Regions from separate parts of the Homo sapiens genome. Here all the other regions are linked to region 2. Evidence: promoter capture Hi-C in 16 types of primary human blood cells and fetal thymus (Javierre and others, 2016). All regions are on one chromosome and are shown on one strand. The core of a region is centred on a gene start or on the middle of the fragment in contact, and the rest is flanking DNA. Distances in the headings are between cores, read along the strand shown. Region 1 has its middle 33 kb from the start of ZFY. Region 2 holds the start of SRY (sex determining region Y). Region 3 overlaps RPS4Y1 (ribosomal protein S4 Y-linked 1). Region 4 has its middle 34 kb from the start of RPS4Y1.

The links. The method cuts DNA at HindIII sites, captures the fragments that hold promoters and counts their contacts. A CHiCAGO score of 5 or more calls a contact.
Region 1: a contact is called between a fragment that was not itself captured here and the fragment with the promoter of SRY in region 2, in 7 of 17 cell types (total CD8 T cells, M1 macrophages, M2 macrophages and 4 more). The highest score is 8.0, in total CD8 T cells.
Region 3: a fragment that was not itself captured here is called in contact with the fragment with the promoter of SRY in region 2 in 8 of 17 cell types (M1 macrophages, M0 macrophages, non-activated CD4 T cells and 5 more); the score reaches 10.0 in M1 macrophages.
Region 4: a fragment that was not itself captured here is called in contact with the fragment with the promoter of SRY in region 2 in 5 of 17 cell types (M1 macrophages, total CD8 T cells, neutrophils and 2 more); the score reaches 8.7 in M1 macrophages.

Annotation. Positions count from the first base shown.
Region 1 is chrY:2,899,687-2,906,041 of GRCh38, forward strand. No RefSeq gene overlaps it. Among named protein-coding and RNA genes, the nearest start is that of ZFY, 33 kb to the right of the region's middle. The HindIII fragment of the contact is 1,417 bases long and covers 545-1,961 here.
Region 2 is chrY:2,786,344-2,792,644 of GRCh38, forward strand. It overlaps SRY (sex determining region Y), which reads right to left and starts at 1,339. Exons shown (of 1, transcript NM_003140.3): 1 at 512-1,339. The coding sequence starts at 1,260. The coding sequence ends at 646. It also overlaps the pseudogene RNASEH2CP1. RefSeq lists promoters at 1,261-6,261, 1,357-3,331, 1,357-1,670 and a cis regulatory region at 4,887-6,261. The HindIII fragment of the contact is 2,145 bases long and covers 1-1,665 here.
Region 3 is chrY:2,855,788-2,861,644 of GRCh38, forward strand. All of the region lies in intron 5 of RPS4Y1 (ribosomal protein S4 Y-linked 1), which reads left to right. Among named protein-coding and RNA genes, the nearest start is that of RPS4Y1, 17 kb to the left of the region's middle. The HindIII fragment of the contact is 1,320 bases long and covers 2,649-3,968 here.
Region 4 is chrY:2,872,478-2,879,041 of GRCh38, forward strand. No RefSeq gene overlaps it. Among named protein-coding and RNA genes, the nearest start is that of RPS4Y1, 34 kb to the left of the region's middle. The HindIII fragment of the contact is 3,438 bases long and covers 3,589-6,564 here.

The DNA of each region.
Region 1 (6,355 bases), core at 3-2,502, 110 kb after region 2:
GGCAGGACTAGATTGCAGATCCGGATAGAGCAGCATGCGGGGGCTTGCATTGTAAATTTTAGCTCCAGATTGACTGCAGGAACAAACCAGCAATCCCGAGAGGAACCACAGACCCTCTGAAGGAAGAAGACTGCCCCTGTAGGACCCAGGAGACACCCCAAATACTGTGAGTGTCCTAACAGTGGAAGTGGGAAAGAGAGACCCTCCTCTCCTGAACACACGCCCCCACTGGAGAAGCTGAAAGTCTGTTTGTGGGAGAGCAGTTTCTGACTTTACCTAGAGCTAAATCAAGTTAGAGAGCCAAGCCAAGCAAAATACAGGGATAGAGGAAGCAGCAGAAAGTCCATGGGAGCTCACTGGGTCCCCAAGCAACAAGTAGAAGAAAGAAATTCAGAGCTTGAAGACAAGGACTTCAAATTAACCCAATCCAACAAAGACAAAGAAAAAAGGAGAAGAAAATATGAGCAAAGCCTCCAAGAAGTCTGGGATTATGTTAAACAGCCTAAGAACAATCAGTGTTCTTGAGGAAGAAGACAATTCTAAAAGCTTGGAAAACACATTTCAGGGAATAATCGAGGAAAACTTCCCCAGCCTTGCTAGAGACCTACACATGCAAATAAAAGAAGCACAAGGAATACTTGGAAAATTCATCACAAAAAAGTCTTCACCTAAGCACATTGCATCAGGTTATCCAAAGTTAAAATGAATGAAAGAATCTTAAAAGCTGTGAGACAGAAGCACCAGCTAACCTACAAGGGAAAAACTGTCAGATTAACAGCAGAATTCTCCACAGAAACCCTACAAGTTAGAAGGGCTTATAGGGTTTCTGCCTCCAATCTTCAGCCTCTTCAAACAAAACAATTATCAGCCAAGAACTTTGTATCCAGTGAAACTAAGCAACATATATGAAGGAAAGGTACAATCTTTTTCAGACAAACAAATGTGGAGATAATTAGCCATTACCAAGCCATTTCAATAATAACATTGAATGTAAATGGCCTAAATGCACCACTTAAAAGATACAGAACTGCAGAATGGATATGAGCTCACCAATCATCTGCTGCCTTCAGGAAGATCATCTAACACATAAGGACTCACATAAACTTACAGGGGTGGAAAAAGTAATTTCATGCAAATGGACAACAAAAGTGACCAGGGGTAGCTATTCTTATATTAGACAAAACAAACTTCAAAGCAACAGTGGTTAAAAGAGACAAAGAAGGGCCGGGCATGCTGGCTCATGCCTGTACTCCCAGCACTTCGGGAGGCGGAGGCAGGCTGATCACGAGGTCAGGAGTTTGAGACCGGCCTGGCCAACATAGTGAAACCCCATCTCTACTAAAAATACAAAAAAAAAAATCAGCTGGGCGTGGTGGTGGGTGCCTGTAATTCCAGCTACTAGAGGCTGAGGCAGGAGAATCTCTTGAACTCGGGAGGCAGAGGCTGCAGTGAGCCGAGATCACGCCACTGCACTCTAGCCCGGGCAACAGTGCGAGACTCCGTCTCAAAGAAAAAAAAAAAGAAACAAAGAGAGACATTATGTAATGGTAAAAAGCCTTGTCCAACAAGAAAATGTCACAATCCTAAACATATATGCACTGAACACTGGAGCTCTCAAATTTATAAAACAATTACTAATAGATCTAAGAAATGAGATAGACAGCAACACAATAGTAGTGGGGAACTTCAATACTCCACTGACAGCACCAGACAGGTCATCAAGACAGAAAATCAACAAAGAAACAATGGATTTAACTATGCCTTGGAATAAATGGACTTAATATATTTCATCCAACAGCTACTGAATACACATTCTATTCAAAAGCACATGGAACTTTCTCCAAGATTAGACCATATGATAGACCATAAAAAGAGCCTTAATAAATTTAAGAAAATTGAAATTATATCAAGCACTCTTTCAAACTATGGTGGAATAAAACTGGAAATCAGCTCCAAAAGGAAGCTTCAAAACAATGCAAATACATGGACACTAAATAACCTGTTCCTGAATGAACATTGGGTCAAAAAAAATGAAGGTGGAAATTAAAAAATTCTTCGAACTGAATGACAGTAATGACAAAATCTATCAAAACCTCTGAGATATAGCTAAGGTGGTGTTAAGAGGAAAGTTGATAGCTCTAAATGCTGACATCAAAAAGTCTGAAAGAGCACAAATTGACATTCTAAGGTCACATCCCAAGGAACTAGAGAAACAAGAACAAACCAAACCAAAACCCAGCAGAAGAAAGGAAATAACCAAGATAAGAGCAGAAATAAATTGAAACAAAGAAAAAAAAGATACAAAAGATAAATAAAACAAAAAGCAGGATCTTGGAAAAGATAAGTAAAATTGATAGACCATAAACAAGATTAATCAAGAAAAGAATAGACAAAATCCAAATAACCTCACTGTGAAACAAAACAGGAGATATTACAACTGACACCACTGAAATAAAAAAGATCATTCAAGGCTATTATGAACACCCTTACACATATAAACTAGAAAACCTAAAAGAGATGCATAAATTCCTGGAAAAATATAACCCTCCTAGCTTAAATCAGGACCCTTAAATTTGATACCCTGAACAGACCAACAACCAGCAAGGTTGAAACAGTAATTTAAAAATTACCAACCAAAAAAAGTCCAAGACCAGACAAATTCATAGCAGAATTCTACCAGACATTCAAAGAAGAATCAGTACAATTCCTTTTGACACTATTCCACAAGATAGAGAAAGAAGAAACCCTCCCCAATTCATTAATTGAAGCCAGCATCATCCTAATACCAAAATCAGAAAAGGATACAACCAAAAAAGAAAACTACAGACTGATATCCTTGATGAACATAGATGCCAAAATCCTTAACAAAATACTAGCTAACTGAAACCAACAACATAGCAAAAAATAATCCACCATGATCAAGTGGGTTTCATACCAGGGATGCAGAGATGGTTTAACATACACAAGTGAGTAAGTGTGATACTAAGGCAAGATATTAAAGAAAAATAAAATTAAAAAGAAAGGGAAATAAGTTTTCCTGCATTAGGCTGATTTGTCCCAGAGGCAGCAACAGGCACAGCCCAGACCCAGGAAAAGTCTTGATAATATTACCTAATGTGCTCTGGAGACTCTCCAGCACTCCCTCAACATAGGGAGAAGAAAAACAAATTTTCCTTTGTTTTATGGAATGAGTTTATAGATCCTTGTTCTCTGTAACTAGTGACTTCAAGTATTCTGTTTATCTAAAAAGTACAACGGAGGTCATGAGAAGCCTGAGTAGGCCTGAACTACAGCTGCCTGGGCACCACAGTGAAGGTTATAGGATAAGCCCATGCCCAGACAAACCTAGATAATGGACATCTGGGTTGCTTGGCAATGGTCATGTGCAGTCCTGTCTTTGTCCTGCCTCTGAACCCCTGCTTTTATGCCACTGTAAGCTTCCTTCAAGCTAGCCCGCCCCCTTTTGTGAAGTGTATATAAAAGTCAGATGCTGTCTTTGTGCTGGGCCCAGTCTTGGGATGTGAGTCAGCTGGACCTGAGTGCACTCAATAAAGATCCTGCTGTTTTAACCCAAGGTCTCTTTCATTCTCCTGAATCCTGCAAAAATACACCACATAAACAGAATTAAAAACAAAAATCACATGATCATCTCAATGGGTGCAGAAAAAAGATTTGACAAAATCTGGCATCCCTCTATGATTAAAACCCTCTGCAACATTGACAAACAAGGGACATAGCTTAATGTAATAAAAGCTACCTATGACAAACCCACAACCAATATAATACCTAATGGGGAAAAGTTGAAAGTATTCCCTCTGAGAACAGGAACCCAAGACAAGGATGCCCACTCTCACCACTTCTCTTCAACATAGTACTGGAAGTCCTAGCCAGAGCAATCAGACAAGAGAAAGAAAGAAAGGGGATCCAAATTGGTAAAGAGGAAGTCAAATTGTCCCTGTTTGCTGATGATATGATCATTTACCTTGAAAACCTTAAGGACTCCTCCAGAAAGCTCCTACAACTGATAAAATAATTCTGCAAAGTTTCTGGATACAAGATTAATGTACACAAATCAGTAGCTCTTCTATACACCAACAGCGAAGAAGCAGAGAATGAAATCAAGAACTCAACTCCTTTTACAATAGCTGCAAAAAAATTAAGATACTTAAGATATACCTAACCAAGGATTCAAAAAAACCAAGGAAAACTACAAAACACTGCTAAAAGAAATCATAGACAACATAAATAAATGGAAATATATCCCATGCTTATGGATGGATAGAATTAATATTGTGAAAATGACCACACTGCCAAAAGCAATCTACAAATTCAACAAAATCCCCATCAAAATATGACCACCATTCTTCACAGAGTTAGAAAAAACAATTCTAAAACTCTTATGGAATTGAAAAAGAACCTGCATAGCCAAAGCAACACTAAGCAAAAACAAAAAATCTAGAGGCATCACACTACCTGATTTCAAACTATACTATAAGGTCATAGTTGCCCGGCGTGGTAGCTCACGCCTGTAATCCCAGCACTTTGGGAGGCCAAGGCGGGTGGATCATGAGGTCAGGAGATTGAGATCATCCTGACTAACATGGTGAAACCCCATCTCTACTAAAAATACAATAAATTAGCCAAGCATTGTGGCGGGCGCCTGTAGTCCCAGCTACCCGGGAGGCTGAGGCAGGAGAATGGCATGAACCCAGGAGGCGGAGCTGGCAGTGAGCTGAGATCACACCACTGCACTCCAGCCTGGGCAACAGAGTGAGACTCCATCTCAAAAAAAAAAAAAAAAAAAAAAAAAGGGTCATAGTCACCAAAACAGTGTGACATTAGTATAAAAATAGGCACATAGATGAATAGAATAGAGAACTCAGAAATAAACTCAAATACTTACAGCCAACTGATTTTCAACAAAGCAAACAAAACACAAAGTGGGGAATGGACACTCTTTTCAACAAATGGTTCTGGGATAATTGGCTAGCCACATGTAGGAGAATGAAACTGGATCCTCATCTCTCACCTTATACAAAAATCAACTGAAGATGGATTAAGAACTTAATTCTAAGACCTAAAACTATAAAATTTCTACAAGATAACATTGGAAAAACCTTCTAGACATTGGCTTAGGCAAGGATTTCATGGCCAAGAACCCAAAAGGAGATGCAATAAAAACACAGATAAATAGCTAAGACCTAATTAAACTAAAGAGCTTTTGCACAGCAAAAGGAATAGTCAGAAAAGTAAACAAATAACTGACAGAGTGGGAGAAAATCATCACAATCTATACATCTGACAAAATACTAATATCCAGAATCTACCACAAACTTAAACAAATTAGTAAGAAAAAAACAATCCCATCAAAAAGTGGGTTAAGGACATGGATAGACAATTCTCAAAAGAAGATATACAAATGGCCAAAAAACATATGAAAAAATTCTCACCATCACTAATGATCAGGGAAATGCAAATCAAAACCACAATGCAATACCACCTTACTCCTGCAAGAATGGCTATAATCAAAAATGAAAAAAACTGTACTTGTCGTGGATGCAGTAATCAGGGAACACTTCTACCGTGCTGGTGGGAATGTAAACTAGTACAGCAGCTATGGAAAACAGTGTGGACATTCATTAAAGAACTAAAAGGAGAACTACCATTTGATCCAGCAATCCCACTACTGAGATCCACCCAGAGAAAAAGAAGTCATTATTTGTTTATTCAGAAAAGACAGTTACACATGCATGTTTATAACAGCACAATTCACAATTGCAAAATCGTGGTACCAATCCAAATATGCCCATTAATCAATGAGTGTATAAAGAAACTGTGGTATAGGCTGGGTGCAGTGGCTCACACCTGTAATCCTAGCACTTTGGGAGGGCCGAGACAGGCAGTTTGCCTGAGCTCAGTAGTTTGAGACCAGCCTGAATAACATGGTCAAACCCCATCTCTACTAAAAAAAAAAAAAAAAAAATTGTGGGACATGATGATGGGCACCTGCTACTCAGGAGGCTGAGGCAGAAGAATTGCTTGAACCTGGGAGATGGAAGTTACAGTGAGCAGAGATCGAGCCACCGCACTTCAGCCTGGGTGACACAGCGAGACTCCATCTCCAAAAAAAAAAAGAAAAGGAAACTGTGGTAGATATGTATACACACAAAAAGGAATGAATTAACAGCATTTGCAGTGACCTGGATGAGATTGGAGACTATTACTCTAAGTGAAGTAACTCAGCAATGGAAAACCAAATATTGTATGTTCTCACTGATATGTGGAAGCTAAGCTATGAGGACACGAAGGCATAAGAATGACACAATGGACTTTGGAGGCTTGCGGGGAAGAGTGG
Region 2 (6,301 bases), core at 89-2,588:
AAAATGATAAGTTTCATAGAGATACAAAAATGACAAGGAATTAAATATTTTGTTTTACCAGAGGCATTTTATAACTAGTTGAAAGGAAATGTCAACCGTTTGGATTTATATGGAGTAAAGGAACTGAATTGCAAGTGGAGGTAAAACTGGTTTTTTCCACAGCGTGAAGGGGAGAGAAAGAAACAAGTTTGATCCTGCTTACATATCCATTCCTTAGTTACCTGCAATTTATAGACACGTACAAAGTAGCTGAAAGACCAATGAATACACGGTCTAGAGAGGACTGCTTAACACGCTGCATATAGAAGTGTGATTTTTTTTGGTACAATTTTCAAGTGTGTTTCTCATTAGAGCATTTAAAGTAAGCCACAGTGTCCGTTTGTATCAAGTTAGTACTCTGACGGCCACAAACATAGGCAGGCTCACTTCTGGATGTCTTATTTCTTTGCATGTTAATCGTGTTGACACAACTTGTCTTGAAATTAAGTTTAAAATGAAATACCAGTAAAACTGAAATGAATAAGGCCTTTATTAGCCAGAGAAAAGAAAACAATATTGAAACTAAACATAAGAAAGTGAGGGCTGTAAGTTATCGTAAAAAGGAGCATCTAGGTAGGTCTTTGTAGCCAATGTTACCCGATTGTCCTACAGCTTTGTCCAGTGGCTGTAGCGGTCCCGTTGCTGCGGTGAGCTGGCTGCGTTGATGGGCGGTAAGTGGCCTAGCTGGTGCTCCATTCTTGAGTGTGTGGCTTTCGTACAGTCATCCCTGTACAACCTGTTGTCCAGTTGCACTTCGCTGCAGAGTACCGAAGCGGGATCTGCGGGAAGCAAACTGCAATTCTTCGGCAGCATCTTCGCCTTCCGACGAGGTCGATACTTATAATTCGGGTATTTCTCTCTGTGCATGGCCTGTAATTTCTGTGCCTCCTGGAAGAATGGCCATTTTTCGGCTTCAGTAAGCATTTTCCACTGGTATCCCAGCTGCTTGCTGATCTCTGAGTTTCGCATTCTGGGATTCTCTAGAGCCATCTTGCGCCTCTGATCGCGAGACCACACGATGAATGCGTTCATGGGTCGCTTCACTCTATCCTGGACGTTGCCTTTACTGTTTTCTCCCGTTTCACACTGATACTTAGAGTTACAGCTTTCAGTGCAAAGGAAGGAAGAGCTTCTCCGGAGAGCGGGAATATTCTCTTGCACAGCTGGACTGTAATCATCGCTGTTGAATACGCTTAACATAGCAGAAGCATATGATTGCATTGTCAAAAACAAGGAGAGTGCGACAAAATTGAAAGGTGCCAGAGTTCGAAACTTATTTTACTATCCAAAACTCACTTCTACCAGATTCTTTGTTACGTTAACTTTTGTAATGAAACTTGCATTTCTCCGCCCTCAACACCCCCTCAACCCCGCCCAACCAGCCTACCCCCTAGTACCCTGACAATGTATTCATTCTCAAGCAAAACATGGTAATTCAGTAACGTTGACTACTTGCCCTGCTGATCTGCCTCCCTGACTGCTCTACTGCTGTCCTGAAAAATGCGAATTTGACTTAATCGCCAATTTTTTCATTGACCTTTTATGTCACAAAACGAGAGGACACAAAAAGCTATATGAATTGTTTATCATTATCAATATATGTGTATGTTATCTTTAAAAAAACAAAGCTTAATGAGAACCTAATTGTCTTAACCACACACATACATACATAACTGCATATTGAATTTATAGTAATTATTATCGCTTTTTCTTCACTTCTATTTAAAAATTGAAAATTCTATACACATTTTTCACAGGCATTAAGTATCAGAATATTAGCATATACTTACAAGTATTTTATGCCCAACTTCTAGGATGGCTAACATTTGACTTTTAGAAAAGTAATTGTTTCGTTTAGAGAAAAAAAAATATGACCTAAGAACTCAAAACAGTTTCAGTGAAGTGTTAAGCTACACTAAAAAGGGGACACAATTCTTTTCTTTGCAGATTGTATAGTGGGATATTTTGAAGTCATTCTCTTCACTGTCACACAATTAGCAATTTAAAAAACAATCTTTTACAAGTCTAAATTAAATTTCCATTCACAACAAATAGAGCCATCAATTTATCATATTTCACCTTTTAGTTCAACCTCCTTCAAAATTTAAAGGTCACAGTTTACCAGACTAAACAAGTGAATAACTCTCCTCAATAAATCTTAAAGTCTGAAGAGAAATGACAAGATTTCTTTGCTGAAATAAAATGGGAGGAAAGTCCCCCCACTCACCAATGTTTTAATGCCATATTTGCAAAACAGGAGTAACAACTACAGGTTGCATAGTACACAGAACCTATTAATAAAAATAAACTCTCAGCAAAACTGAATGATGCCACAATTCCTAAGACAACAAAATAAAAATCCCGTAAAATATGAAAAGAGTTCATAGAACCAAATGTGGTTGGTTTGTCCAGTAAATGTTATAATGAATTAATATCAGAAACTTTAAAAAATTATATTCCATGAAAAGAAAAATATGAAAACTGTAATTTGTATCCTAGTTATCTACTAAAGTTTAGTATCTAAGATACAAAATTTAGTATTCATTATACAAAGTGGAAATATAGTTGGCTCAAGTTAAAACATGTATCTGGATAGCAAATAAAATGGTTAAATTGCAGTCATACACAGAAACAGATTTTCTACAACAGGAAATCCCTTACAAGATGAGAAAAAACATACCATTTCAAAACCTGACATGAAAATAGCAAAAAATGACACAAGGCACCACATAGGTGAACCTTGAAAATGTTACACTGTGTGAAAAAGTCAGATACAAGAGGCCAGATACTGAATGATCCCATGTATATGAAATATCCAGGAAAGGCAAATGAATAGAGACTAAAACCAGATTAATGGTTGCTAAGGACTGGATGAAAGAGGTTGTGGGGAGTTACTGCTGGTGGATGCACGGTTTCTTTTGAGGATTGATAAAATATGCTCTGGAACTAGAGAGAGGTGATGGCTGCACAACATGGTGAACCAAAGAGTCAGAGAAACTGAAGTCCAAATAAGGAGTTTGTTGGCAGTTTTAGAACTGTAATTAGAGAAACAGATTCCAGAAGCATCTGACATTGTGTCGTGACCGGCTGTTTTGAGAGACAGTTTTTAAAGGAAATAAGAGAAAGTTGGTACTCATTAGGTTACTTACAACCTATTATCTTAATTGGTAATGAAGGGTTATCTTAACAGTTCATGAGTTTCTACGCAAAAGTCCTTGAATCAGTGGTTTGGGTAAAAAGTCAGTTTTCACTATGAAGTCTTTTAATAAGTGGCAGCAATTTTTGTCTGCAGAATCTGCAAGTACATTTTGCAGTCAGGCAGTTGCAAGATGGGTTTCAAAAACAAAATGTTGTTGCTATGGTTAGGTCTTGTTGCCTTCGTTCCCCGGTACTACTGAATCGTCCAGTTTAAGAGGGATAAAGTGGCGTCGCACAGGAGCGAGGATGGAGAGCGGCGACTAGGCGGCTATGGAGAGGTACAGCGTCCAGTTGCGCCCAGCCACACTGCAGGACGCCGCCCCCGCCACACTACACCTGATACCCTGCGGCCCACCACGGTGTGGCGCTTCATCACGCCTGCCATCCGCCAGGGCCCCGAGGGACTCTTAAGTGTAGTTTCGGGGCCGCAGTCTACGGGGCGACGAGGTGGCAGTGCCGTCCGGCCTCGTGGGATACGTGATGGTGACTGAACAGGAGGAGGTGTCGATGGGGAAGCCAGACCCCTGGCGGGGTTCCGGGAGTGACAACCAAGAAGAGGAACCTCTGGAGCGGGACTTTGACCGCTTCCTCGGAACCACTACCAGCTTCAGCCGCTTCACCCTGTAGGGCATGGGGCTTCACCCTGTGGGGCACCCTGTGGGGCTTCCTTGGCCCGGAAGCCAAACTGCGTGGGGCCTTAACTTGGCCCAGCCTCGCGGCAACGATTCACGCGCAGGTGCCCAAGGACACAGAACCAGAGCTTGAAATTCAAAGCCGCGAACCCTTTACAGCAGTAAACCAGCTCCTTACTTTGTAGCCACTGGTTCCATCACCCCAGTAAAGGAGTTCTTCACAGCACACATTCACAAAAGATAAAGTGGTGAATTTTATATTCTTATATACATATGTCCAACCATCTATATGTTTTTAAGAAGGCAAAAAAGACCTCCCAGATGCATATATTACAGGACGGGGTGTGTGAGGAGACTCACTTGGGGGTGGCAGTCAACAAAATTTAAATAAAGACACGAGATTTTATTATTTTTCTGTCTACAGCTCCTAGGATAGTGTGTGACATGTAGTAGGTTCTCAGTATACTTCTCTGGTACTTAAATTAATGAAATGTGTAAACATGCCTCTGGGTTCAGAAAAACAAACTCAACCACTTAAAAAAAAAAAAAGGAAAAAAGTGTTGGTTCTCCTGTAAAGTAATAAACCTACATGCAAAAATAAGGATGCAGGGGGAGGCCGAGAGCATTAAATTTGCCTCTATAATATCATATCAACACATTTTAATCTCTCAACCAGGGCTAATAATTCACTCACTGTCTCCAGGGGACTACATTAACAGTTCTTCCAATATTGGGCCTTTATATCATCAGCTAACCATATGCTTCCCTGAGCGCCTGAGTGATCCCAGTTTCTGGAACACTATTCCTTTCTCTCAAATTCAGTAAATAAAAAGTTAAAGCGCTATATTGTTTTATATGAGTACGACCTTTAAGATTCACTGATGACTATTTCTCAACAGTTGTTAAATATTTTTACATCAGTCAGGCCCACAAGCAATGTTAACTGGTAGGAAGTTAGCTGGTCCTGTCAATGTTAAATCCAAACGGGCTTAACCAACAGCAAAAGTTGCCAAACTAAGGGATTTTTTTTTGTTTTTTTAATCTTAAGGTATGGTAAGAAAAATGTTCAAAGACATTAGATTCAAATAATTTCACACAGATCCTGGTTCATTTTTATATCAGAATAAAAATGAAATGAATAATGAAATAAAAATGAAAACTGAAGAATAGTAACTTAGATTGGTCCAATGCAATTAATTGCATTTGAGGTACATTAAGGTATTTTATGCTCATTAGTTAAATACCCTTTGTAGCCCTAATTTAATTGCTATGGTGTATGCAAACACAGTTTACCACTGCATAAAGAATAAAACCCACAACATTTTATATGAATTTATTTATTTTTTCTCCTCACAAGATGTACTTTGGTATTTCTTCAAATTCAGGGATGAATGCAGCAAAAATGTTGTGAATATTACTCCACTCATTCTCTCTAATTTTATCTCAAGATATTCCCATCAAAGTAGAAATATATGTGGTCATAAACCATCCCCCATAAATTGTATACTAGACAGAGTTGACTATTCTAAGTCAACTTATGTGTTCATTTATCCTGCAGCTTGGCTATAGGCTGTTTTTTGAAGTCTAATGGTTGGCAGGTCACCAAAGACACAAACAACAAAAGAAAAGGTAAATAAAATGCACAAGAGCAAAATTTAAAACTTTTGTGAAAGGACACTTACAAATAAAAAGGTGTAATAGAGTAACACTAAACTTAGGATTTTTAGACTTGTGATTATTTTTGGGACTTTAGAGTCAAATGTCCTTTCAAGATGTTGGGTTTGTTTTGTTTGCATGTTTTTTATTTTAACCATGCTAAATTCATGGGCCATATTTTCAACATCTAATTCTCAAAAAGTTAGAATAGTCTTCTGATTTGGTAGGTAGAAGTTAATGCTCACTTTAATTGCTAGGTTCTACTGTTTCAAGACTTAATCAGATAAATCACCTAGCAACTGATGCATTTAAACATGATCAATTTTACTGGCATCTTTTTTTCCCAGGGATAATCTAATTATTTGCCAGTGGGAGGATGAAGTAGGGTGCAGTGGGAAATAGAATGATCTCCTACCTGAGCCGAAGAACCTTACAAATGCATATCTACTACATGTAAATTAAACTATAAGTAAACAAAATAGTTTACAACTTTAAAATAATGCTGCCTGTTTTTTTCTCTAACTTCACCTGAATTATTTTTCTTTTACTTTATTATTTTGATTTTTTCAAAGTATAGGAAATTGCCTGTAAAAACAAGGTTTCATACTTGGGAAGAAATTTCTCATAGAGTGAAGCATTTTTTTTTTTTTTCAAATCAGTTGTAACTAACCGTCTTAAAATCACATTGTGGCTATCCATGCCTGAAATATGTAAACAGAAAACAGATGACATCCACAATTTTCCTTTCTTCCTTAAAACAAAGAGGTAACTTCACT
Region 3 (5,857 bases), core at 2,059-4,558, 71 kb after region 2:
ACCTCCTAGTAATAGCAGGAAGTAATAGCAGGAATACTTACATTCAGGAAGTATTCTTGTCAAAGAATGAAGACAAACTTGGGTAAAGGGACAAAGGAAAAAATGTATATATTGGAACACACTTAAGAAACATTTGCGGAGTTACTTAGATTTTCGAGTGGCTTGTGAGAATATTTCAGGTTCTAATGATTTGGTACTGGCCATTTGTTTCTAAGTGATCCAGCGCAGGACTGCATAGGTAAAGATGAATCAAAGCTGGCCAGGAGTTTAAAAATGTTACGAAGCTGGAGAGTGGGTAGGTAGGAGCATCTTATGCTTGTCTCTCAAACGTTTGCATACCTTTGAGAATAATTTTTTTTTTAATTTTTTGAGATAGAGTCTTGCTCTGTCGCCCAGGCTGGAGTGCAGTGGCACGATCTTGGCTCACTGCAAGCTCCACCTCACAGGTTTGCGCCGTTTTCCTTCCTCAGCCTCCCAGGTAGCTGGGACTGCAGGTGCCTGCCACCATGCCCGGCTAATTTTTGTATTTTTAGTAAAGACGGGGTTTCACCATGTTAGCCAGGATGGTCTTGATCTCTTGACCTTGTGATCCGCCCACCTTGGCGCCCCAAAGTGCTGGAATTACAGGCGTGAGCCACCGTGCCCAGCCGAGAATAATTTTTAAAATGGATGTGGACTTCTTATCTCCAATGAAATGATATGTTGTATCTCATTTGTTTATTAAATCAAATTCCCAGTTAAAATTCAACAGATTTTTTTTTCTCCCCCACCTAACTTGTTTGTTTTTGTTTTGTTTTGTTTTTGGGGGAGTTTTGTTTCATTTTGCTTTCAGACAGTCTTGCTCTGTTGACCAGGCTGGTGTGCAGTGGTACAGTCTCGGCTCACTGCAACCTCCGCTTCCTGGGTTCAAGTGATTCTACTGCCTCAGCCTCCCAAGTAGAGACAGGGTTTCACCATGTTGGTCAGGCTGGTTTCAAACTTCTGACCTCAGGTGATCCACCTGCATCGGCCTCCCACAGTGCTGGGATTACAGGTGTGAGCGACCGCCCTGGCCCTAACTTTATTTGAAATATATATCCCTTTGTCTTACACAAACATGCTTGGTATTAATTTTTTTGCTTATTTGTTTATTACTTACTAGTTTACTTAGTTTAGTCCTGGGAGTGTACATAAAATAATCTCAGAATGACAAAGCCAATATTCCTAGTAACAAGAAACCCACTGAGTGAGGGCAAAGGTTTTTTTGTAGTTCTTGGTTTGTTTGGTTTTAAATGCTTAAATAATTTTTAATTGTGGTTTCAAAAAAAAAAAGATACGTCAGAGATTTACCACCTTAACCATTTTTAAGTGTACAGTTCGTTAGTGTTGTTAACTATATTCACATTCTTATGTGGCAGATCTCCAGAACTCTTTCATCTTGTTAAACTGAAACTATGTGCTTTAACCAACTTTGCCACTTTCTCCTTTCTACAACCTCTGACAACCACCATACCACTCTGCTTCTGTGAATTTGACTCTTTTGGGTGGTGTCTTAATAAGTGGAATTGATAGTGTTTGTCCTTTTCGACTAGTTAACTTTGCTTGGCGTCATGTCCTCAGGGTTCATCCATGTTGTGGCATGTGAAAGTATTTCTTTCCTCTTTTTTTGAAAGAGTTTCACTCTTGTCGCCCAGGCTGGAGTGCAGTGACTTTATCTCCGCTCACTGCAACCTCCATCTCCTGGTTTCGAGTGATTCTCCTACCTCAGCCTCCTGAGTAGCTAAGATTTCTGGCACCCATCACCACACTCAGCTGATTTTTGTATTTTTAGTAGAGATGGGGTTTCGCCATGTTGGCCAGGCTGGAGTCAAAACCCTTGACCTCAGGTGATCCACCCTCTTTGGCCTCCCAAAGTGCTGGGATTACAGGCGTGAGCCACCGCACTTGGCCAGTATTTCCTTCCTCTTTCTAAGGCAGAGTAATACTCAGTTGGGTGTGTATACCACATTTTGTTTATCCATTCCTCTGTGGATGGACATTTGGGTTGTCTCCACCTCTTGGCTACTGTGAGTAATGCTGCTGGGGACACAGCGGTGCAGACAACTCTTCCAGATCCTGCTGGATGTTTTTGTATACACACTTAGAAGTGGCATTGCTGGATGAGATAGTTTTGAAATTTTTGAGAAACCATTGTGCGGTTTTTTTATAGCAGCCTTGCCATTTTACATTCTTACCAACAGTGTAGAAGAATTTCAGTTTCTTCACATTCCTTCCCACACTTTGCTGTTGTTTGCTTTTTATATATTTTCTTTTTTTTTTTCTCGTGGCTATCCTGGTAGGTATGAGGTCATATCTCATTATTATTTTTTTAAATTTGGAGTTCTGTGATGAGTAGAGATGTTGAACATCTTTTTGAGTGTTTGTATGTCTTTGGAGAAAGGTTTTATTCATGTCCTTTGTCCAGTATTTAGCTAGGTTGTTTCTGGTATTGTGGAGTTGTAGGACATCTTTAGATAGTATCAGATGTAAGATTTGTGGATGTTTTTTCCCATTCCATAGGTTGCCTTTTCACCCTTACTGATTGTTTCTTTTGGTTGGCAGGCATTTTTAAATTTGTCAGGTTTTGCTTTTGGTGTCATGTCCAGGAAATTATATCTCTTATGTCATGAAGCTTGTGGTCTCTGTGTTTGTCTTTGGAGCTTTACAGTTCAAGGCCTTACGTTTAATCTGTTTAGAGCTGGTTTTTGTATATGGTGTAATGTAAGGTATTCTCATGTTGTTTCTTTACATGGGGACGTAGATTTACCAGCACCACTTGTTGAAGTGACTGTCTTTTCTCCATTGAGAGGTCTGGGCACCCTTGTTGAAGATCATTTGGCCATATATGCTTGGGTTTATTTCTGGGCTCTATTTTCTTCCTTTGGTCTGTTTGCCTGTCTTTTATGCCAGTATCACACTGTTGAATTACTGTCATTTTGTATTTTGTTTTCAAATTAGGAAGTGTGTTATCCAAGTGAGTCAACCATGCTCAACTTCGGTTTTGTCAGTTTTTGTTAATCTGTTTTAAAATATCAACCCTTAGTTTTTTTTCTTTTTTCTTACTGTTTTTTTCTTTTATGTCTGCTCTGGTCTTATTTAATTTTCTTCCTTCTGCCAACCTTGGGTTTATTCTGTTTTTCTAGTTCCTTGTAATGTAGTTAGGCTATTCATTTGAGGTCTTTCTTCTGTTGTAACATAAGCATTTTTGAGCTGCCTTGTCTTGTGTGACAATTTTTGACTTATAGTCTATTTTGTCTGACCCAAGTTTGGTCACCCCTGCTCTCTTTTGCTTACTATTTGCCTGGAACATCAACTTCAGCACTTCACTTTCAGCCTGTGTGTGTCGTTAAATCTGAAACCGGTCTTTTGTTAACAGCATATAGTTGTAACTTGACTGGTTGGTTGGCTGGTTTTATTCATTTAGCTAGTCTGTGTCCTTAGATTGGGGTGAGGAGTTAATCTGTTTTACAGTCAAAATAGTTGCTGTTAAGGAAGGCATTAGTTAGTATAGCTCTGTTGTTAATTATTTTCAGTATGTTCTGTAGCTATTTTATACCTATTTTTTCTCCCTTATTACCTGCCTTTTTGTGCTCTGCTGCTCTTTACTTTTTATAGTGACAAAAAATAAAAGAACACTTTGAATCCTTTCTGATTTTGTGTGTCTTCCATGGTTATTTTCTTTGTGGTTACCAAGGGGATTACATAAATTATCTTAAAGTGAAAACAGTCTGTTTTCAACTGTTACCTTCAGTTGCATCTCCATATCCCCTCAGACAAATTTTGTTATTGATGGCACACATGAATGTTTTTCTATTGTGTATCCTTTTACCATTGGTTTATGGTTATTGATGTGCTTTTGTGTTTTAAGTTCTATACCAGACTTAAAAGTGATTTATACACCTTTGTGATCTAGGATTCTCTATTTGTCTGTATATTTACCTTTATCAGAAAGCTTTATATTTTCTTTCTTTCTTTCTTTTTTTCATATGGTTTTGTGTCTGACATCCTTTTGTTTCATCCTGAAGTGCTTTTCTTCAGCATTTCTCGTAAGGCCAGCCTAGTGGCTTTTGCTTACCTTGGAAGGTCTTATTTTTTCTTTCATTTTGAAAGTTATGGTATTCTTGTGAGGACTAAACCCTGATGATTATCTTACCCAAATCCCTATCTAAGGGATCTGGAGAGTTACGCCCTACAAATGAGCATGACTCATCATCAGATGGGTTTTATTTAACCCTATATTTCATGACTTACTTTCCAGTCTGACTCTGGGATAACATTACGAGACAATGAAGAAAATAAAAATATTTTACCCCAAAACATGTTTGCCATATTTTGAAATGGACTTGCAAAGCTGCTCTTCGTGGGAGTGGAGGAGAAATCTGCATCTGTAAAGAATCTCTATTAAAATAGATAAATCTTTTTCTTCCAGACCCTCCCAATCCTAAAGAGATAAACTAAAATCTGAATAAGAAACATTGGTCATTTATTGTCTCTAAGGGCAACCACTTCCCTAAGACTTCAGAAGAACTTCAGTCTCCATCATCTTTTATCTTAACCTGAGCATTCCCTTTCCCTTCTTACCAATCCCAGGCAAACTCAACCGTCAACCAGAAAATGTTTAAATTCACCAATAGACTGGACCTGATAACCCCCCAACCCTGCCCTTTCTTGACCAAACCAGTGTATTTCTTAAATGTATTTGATTGATGCCTCATGCCTCTCTAAAATGTATAAAACCAAGCTGTGCCCTGACCACCTTGGTTACATGTTCTCAGGGCCTCCTCTTGAGGGTTGTGTCATGGGCCATGGTCGCTCATATTTGGCTCTTTTATAGTTAGACTCTTCGTTGTCACTTGGTTTAAGCACTTTGAATATGTCATCCCACTGTCTTCTGGATTGCAGAGTTATAGCTTATCTAGCAAGAGCTCCCTTGTAAATGATGAGTCACTTTTTACTTGCTGCTTCCAAGATTCTTTCTTTGTGACTCTTGAGAGTTTGATTATATTGTCTCTTGATGCTTTGGGCTTATCCTAGTTGGAGTTCAGCTTCTTGAATTTGTATGTCCATCTTCTTTCACACAACTGGGGAGTTTGGGCCATTATTCTCTTCTAGTAGGCTTTTTGCCCCTCCCTGTCTTTCCCCCAAATCCTGTTCTCATTTTCTCTGTTTCTGTCTTTTCTCCTTCTAGGACTCTTGTAGTTTGTATATTGTTCCTCTTGATGGTGTCTGCTACTCCCTCTCTTAGGCTCACCTTTATTTTTCTTTTTTCCTTTTTGCGCCTCTGACTTGTTAATTTCAGTGGCCTGTCTTCAAGTTTGCAGATTCTTTCTGGACCTGTGATTTTTAAATTCTGTTCAATTGTATTCAGTTCCAGAGTTTGATCCTTTTTTGTGGGTTTCCTTTACATTGTTGATAATTCTCATGTTGTTTATGGGTTGTTTTTCTGATTTTGTTTGTAGCTGTTTCCTTAGTTTGATATGCATCTTTAAGATGGTTAGCTTGAATTTTTTGTCTGGTAACTCATACATCATCGTTTCTTTAGGCTTATTTTTCTAAAGAAAAACAGCCATCTCTTCCAGTCTTCCCTATGTATCTTCATACAGGGAGTATGACCTTCACCAGTCAGCCAGGCTAGAGGTTTTGGGAATCTCATCTCAGGGCTTGCATGTGTACTTTCTTGGCTGTGCTTCTCTGAAGCCCCTAACCTCTTGCTTTGCCTGATGCCTGTCTGTGGTACTATGGCCTCTCTGCTGTTGTAACAACTGTCTCATATACCCTGCTCCACCCCCATCCCTGTATGTCTTTTTTTTTTTTTTTTTTTTTTTTTGAGCTGGAGTTT
Region 4 (6,564 bases), core at 4,058-6,557, 90 kb after region 2:
GGCTTAAAAACGTCGTTCAGCGGTTTTCCGCCCTGGGTGGGCCAGGTGTTCCTTGCCCTCATTCCCGTAAACCCACAACCTTCCAGCTTGGGCGTTAGGGCCATTATGAACATGTTACACTGCTGCAGAAATTTTGTTTATGGCCAGTCTTGGGGCCAGTTTATGGCCAGATTTTGGGGGGCTTGCTCCCAACACCATGGTAATTTTTTTTTTAAACTTATTTGTAGAGATGGTGTCTCACCATTTTGCCCAGGCTGGTTTTTAACTGGGCTCAAGCAGTCCTCCTGCCTCAGCCTCCCAAAGTGTTGAGGTTACAAGGGTGAGCCACCATGCCCAGCATCTGTGTGCTTTCTGAGAAATGTGTCCATTTTGTCAAAGATTCAAATTTATGTGTGTATAATTATTTATAGTATTCCCATATTGAGTGTGTATGTATGTGTGTGTAAGGTGTATAGGGTCTGTAAAGCAGAATACCCTGTTTTATCCTGATCATGATATTTATTTCTTCATCTTTGTCAGTCTTACTAGAAAGAGGTTGGTCAATTTTATCAATCTTTACACAACCATTCTGTGTTTCAATGACTTTTTTTTTTTTTTTTTTTAAGATGAAGTCTCACTGTGTTGCCCAGGCTGGAGTGCAGTGGCATACTCTTGGCTCACTGCAACCTCCGCATCCCAGGTTCAAGTGATTCTCCTGCCTCAGTCTGCCAAGTAGCTGGGATTACAGGCACCTGCCTCCAACCTGGCTAAATTTTGTATTTATTTTTAGTGGAGATGGGGTTTCACCATGTTGACCAGGCTAGCCTTGAACTCCTGATCTCAAGTGATCTGCTTGTGTTGGCCTCCCAAAGTGCTGCGATTACAGGTGGTGACCCACCATGTCCAGCCTGTTTCATTGATTTTTATCTATTGTTTCTCTTTTCTATTTGATAGATTTGTATACTTTATTTTTTTTCCTTTTGCTTGCTTTGGATTATTTTTGCCCTTCTCTATACAAGTTATTAAAATGGAAGTGTACATTATTGAAATGTATTCTCTTTTCCCATGTTTTAATTTAATGCCATAATTTTACCTGTCAGCACGCCTTCTCCTTTTACCTTCATCTGATCTGAAATGTGTTTTCAAATTTATCCAGCTCAATGTATTATTTTATTGTTTCTTGACACTTTTCCTTTAACCCTCTGATTATTGAAGGATTCTTGCTTGACCCAAGGGATAATCGTCCCAGTGTATGGAGATTTTCCTGTTATAATTTTCTTACTGATTTCTACTTTAGTTTTGTTGTAGTTTGGGAACACACTGGATTATTGTAATTCTTTTTTATTTGTTGAGTTTTGTTTGATGGCAGAGGAACCTTGAAAATAATGTGTATTTTGCATTTAGCAGAGTGTTCCATAAATGTTCATTAGATGGTTTTGGGTGATGGTGTTACTGAGAGGTCTCTTTTTTGTTGATTTTCTTTCTAGTTGTCTGGTGAATTTTTTTGATAAAGGATGTTGGCCTTTCGAACTATAATAGATTTGTCTTTTTCTTTTATATTTTTTAGGTTTTGCTTGACATATTTTCAGTTCTGTTTCTTGCTGCATGGACAGTTCAGATTGCTGTTTCTTCTAGGTTGTTTTATTTAGCATTATACAATATCCTTTACATCGCTGATAATTTTATCTTCTCTAGTCTACTTTATCTGGTAATATATCTATCCACTCCTGTTCTGCTTTTCACTTTTGAACTTTTCAGCCTGTCTGTACTTTTATATGAAAGTGAGTTTCTTGTAGATAGTAAATATGTGGAGCATGTTGTTAAATCTACACTGCTAATCTCCATATTTTAGTTGGTGCATTTAAACGATTTAGTGTTTACATTTAGTGTTAATTTTTGATATGTTCATAGTTTTCTTGGAACCAAGCCAGGTCTGGCTGCATTTTCTCATGGCCTAATAACTAGAAGCAGACAAACTACATAAGAAGGGAATTTATTGCTGTAACTAGATACAGGGAGAAGATGAGATAATTCCAGGAGACCAACTCAAAGTGTTACAATTTTTTGGTGGTTATATAGGTTGGGCTTATGTGCCTACATGCAGTATAGCTTTTGCCTAAGTCTATTGGCAGCTAAATTTTGTTTCAATTAGGTCAGAGGCCAAAAAAAAAAAAGGCTTGCTAAGTCTGATTCAAAGGGCCCCAGTGCCTTCAAGGGCTGTCTACTGTGGTACAGCAGTGATTATTTGTATCTTATGTCCTTTTAGAGCTTGATCTGGAGAGGTGCCTTAGACTCTCCAGTGAATCCATTCAAACAGCTGCCTCTGTTACCTTGACTCATCTCAGGTTTTGTTGACCAGAAACGGATACTGGCACTAGGAATGTAAGGCTGTCTCTATTATCTTGGCTGGCTCCAGGTTAGGGAGAAGCCCATGCCAGGCTCCTAATGACCATATGCTTCATTTCTAGCTTTGATGTCTGGGCACTGATTTCTGTAGGTTTAACTCTGCTCAACGTTAAGGCAGTGCTATGGAAATTTGTCTGTAACTAGGGTGTTGCACAGGCCTGTGTGTATGACTGTCAGCGAGAACTGTCATGCCACAATAGCTGTTCATTTTCTGTCTGCTGGTTTTGTTTTTTCTCCCGAGTTTTATTTTTTGTCCTTTGTGTGGGTTATTTGAAGAGATTTGAGACATTCATTTTGATGTATTTGTTATCTTTTTTAGTATACCTGAAGAGATATAAAGATATGCCTTTTTTGGTTGTCTTTCTAGGTATTACATTGTGTAAACATAATTTGTCACAGTCTACTGACATCAATTTACCTTACCTCCTATTAGTCCCTTTATCATTTCCCGTTTTATACTTGCCTTATATATTTTCTCTACATACATTTATGATGATCTCAGACTGTGTTACATAATTTTTGTTATAGTAGAGTTTTTAGTTTTAAAATTTCCTTTTCTTTGCTGAAACCTGTAATTTTTACACTTTATACTTGTTCATTAGTTTTAAGCATGTTCATAATTCTTCATTTAATTATTTTTATGATGGCAGTTTAGGAATCTTTCTCAGATATTCCTGATAACACTGACATTTCTGTATTGACATTTATCATGTTGTTTCTTTGAGGTGGAGGCTTTCCTATTGCTTGATTTTTATGAGTGATTTTTATTTGAAACTTGAACATTTAGGGGACTGTTAGGAGACTCTGGACCTTATTATGATGTTCATTTTTAGCTGATTTTATCTAATACCACCCTAATAGAGGAAAGGGTGTGCTTGTCTAGTAGATGCACAATTCCAAATTCCCTTCCTCATTTCCTTTGACACCCAAGGTAAGGCTCCTCATTACTGATAAACGAATATGCAGTTTCCAGTGTCACACAAGGCCTTACTTGCACCTCCTAGGGAAGGATGTCTTATTACCACGAAAACTCTAGTTCTCTATGCTGTCTTCTCTGATTCCACTCCAGCAGAGGGTTGGGGTGCTTCATTACTGCCTATAGAATGGATGTTTGCACTTGGACTTTGTTGGCTTGGGTAGGTTTTTTGTTTTGCCTTGTTTTGTGTGTGTTGTTTGGCTAAAGTAGGGTGGCTATTGTATAAAAGCTTTTTGTCTTAGTAAGATGTCTTTTTCCTAGCCCTGTGGCTAGAGAAGGCGGGCTTGTGAGAACATTTTTGTCTGTGCCTCTTTACATTTTTGGGTACCAGCTCCTTCAGGACCAACTATGTGATAACATGAAGCCAAAACAAAATCCAGGGAACTCATCCTTTTTATCATTTGCTGGGTCTTAAGTTCCCTCAGCAGTTTACCTCTTTGCTCCAATTTTCAAAGTCTTATGCTTGTTTTAGTTATAACACCCAGGGATATTAATTGTATTCATGGTATGATGGAAAAGTACATTTGCTCCATCTATTTTATTACTTAAGTGATGACTGAAGATGCAGAACATTTGTACTGTTCCTTTTGGGCAGAAAATTCAAAGTAATTTTTGCTGTTAAAACACTTCTGTGGATGGCAAGCCACCCAGGTGCCGAGGCAAGAGACCAAGGGCACAAGCTGTTCCAGTACAATAAAATATATAAAATAAGAATAGTTATACTAGATATAGATCTTAGATATGATTATATATGAATATCATTAATCATTAGTTTGTAGCAATTATTCTTTATTCCAATATTATAATAATCCTCGCTCTGTAATCATAACCTAGGTAAAACCAGGACATACAGAAATAGGAGCTGAGGAGATGTAGTGAGAAGTGACCAGAAGACAAGAGTGCAAACCTTCTGTTATGCCCGGACAGGGTCACCAGAGGTCTCCTGGGTCTAGTGGTAATGCCAGCATCTGGGAAGATGCCCATTGCCAAGCAGACCTTGGTCTAGCAGTAGCGTCAGTGTCAAGGAAAAACACCTGCTACTCAGCAGACTGGGAAAGGGAGTCTCCCTTTCCCTGGGGGATTTAGAGAAGACTGTGCTCTTCCACCTCTTGTGGAGGGCCTGACATCAGCCAGGTTCGCCCGCAGTTATCCGGAGGCCTAACCCTCTGCCTGTGATGCTGTGCTTCAGTGGTCATGCTCCTAGTCCGCCTTCATGTTCCATCCTGTACACTTGGCTCTGCCTTTTAGATAGCAGTAGCAAATTAGTGAAAGTACTAAAAGTCTCTGATAAGCAGAAATAATGGCGTAAGCTGTCTCTCTCTCCTCTCTATCTCTGCCTTGGCTGCCAGAAAGGAAAGGGCCCCTGTCCAGTGGACATGTGACCCACGTGACCTTACCTATCATTGGAGATGGCTCATACTCCTTACCCTGCTCCTTTGTCTTGTATCCAATAAATATCAGTGTAGCCTGGCATTCGGGGCCACTACCAGTCTCCGCATCTTGGTGGTAGTGGTCCCCTGCTGTCATTTATCTCTTTGTCTTGTGTCTTTATTTCTACACTGTCTTGTCTCTGCACATGAGGAGAAAACCCACCAACCCTGTGGGGCTGGTCCCTACAACTTTCAACGAATTTAACCTAAATAGGGACAGACTACTTTACAAGGTACAGTGTCAGTTGGGCACAGTGGGTCACGGCTGTAATCCCAGCACTTTGGGAGGCCAAGGAGGTGGATCACTCAAGGTCAGAAGTTTGAGACCAGCCTGGTTAACGTGGTGAAACCCCATCTCTACTAAAAATACACACACACAATTACCTGGCCATGGTGGTGCAGGGCTGTAATCCCCATGGTGGTGCAGGCCTGTAATCCTGGCTACTCAGGAAGCTGAGGCATGAGAATCACTTGAACCTGGGAGGTGGAGGTTGCAGTGAGCTAAGATCATACCACTGAACTCCAGCCTGGATGATAGGGCAAGACTCCATCTCAAAAAAGAAAAAGAAAAAAAAAAAAAAGGCCGGGCTTGGTGGCTTACGCCTGTAATCCTAGCACTTTGGGAGGCTGAGGCGGGTAGATCATGAGGTCAGGAGATCGAGACCATCCTGGTTAGCACAGTGAAACCCCATCTCTACTAAAAATACAAGAAATTAGCTGGGCATCGTGGCGGGCGCCTGTAGTCCCAGCTACTCGGGAGGCTGAGACAGGAGAATGGCGTGAACCCTGGAGGCGGAGCTTGCAGTGAGCAGAGATAGCACCACTGCACTCCAGCCTGGGCGACAGAGCAAGACTCCATCTAAAGAAAAAAAAAAAGGAGGTACAGTGTCTTTGAATCTTAGAGGAAGCTAAGATAGTTTCTAAGGTAAACTGCTCAGAACATAAAGAGTTTGCAGAGGTTGAGGACACATATTCTAATCATGTTGACCACTATTTTTTGCATTTGTTTACTCTTTCCTCCTTCCCCCTCGTCTCCCCCTCCCTGCATTTGTTATGTTGTTGCCGTTGCTGTTTGTGTGACACTTGCCTTAACCTTACAATATTGTATTCCACATTTAACCCATCCTTTTCCATCCTCTCATTACTTTCTCCTGCTTCTTCTAAAATTTGATTTTCTTTTTTCTTTGTTCCCCTGGTATTTACCCAAGTTAGTCTGTTCACTTTTCATCCTTTTAGGCATCAGACTTTTTTTTGTAAAAAAAAAAAATCATCTTCAACATTTAATCATGTTTACTACAGTACCCTATGCAGTTTGAAAACTAAAAAGTGGGCCGGGCATGGTGGCTCATCCCTGTAATCCCAGTATTTTGGGAGGCTGAGGTGGGTGGATCACCTAAGGTCAGTAGTTCAAGAACAGCCTGGCCAATATGGTGAAACCCCATCTCTAAAAATACAAAAATTAGCCAGGCTTTTTCCTTGTACGTGTAGTCCCAGCTATTTGGGATGCTGAGGCAGTAGAATCGCTTGAACCTGGGAGGCAGAGGTTTCAGTGAGTGGAGATTGTGCCACTATACTCCAGCCTGGGCAACAGAGTGAGACTCCATCTCAAAGAAAAGAAAAAAAAAGAAAAGGAAACTAAAAAGTGGTATTATATTTTAATGGCATGTGGACATAGGTGAAATGACCATTGTTTTGTGTCATGGTATGCCAGCATAAGGAATCAGGATTCCCTGTATAGATCATGGATTATTCATTCCAAACTTTTCCTACTTA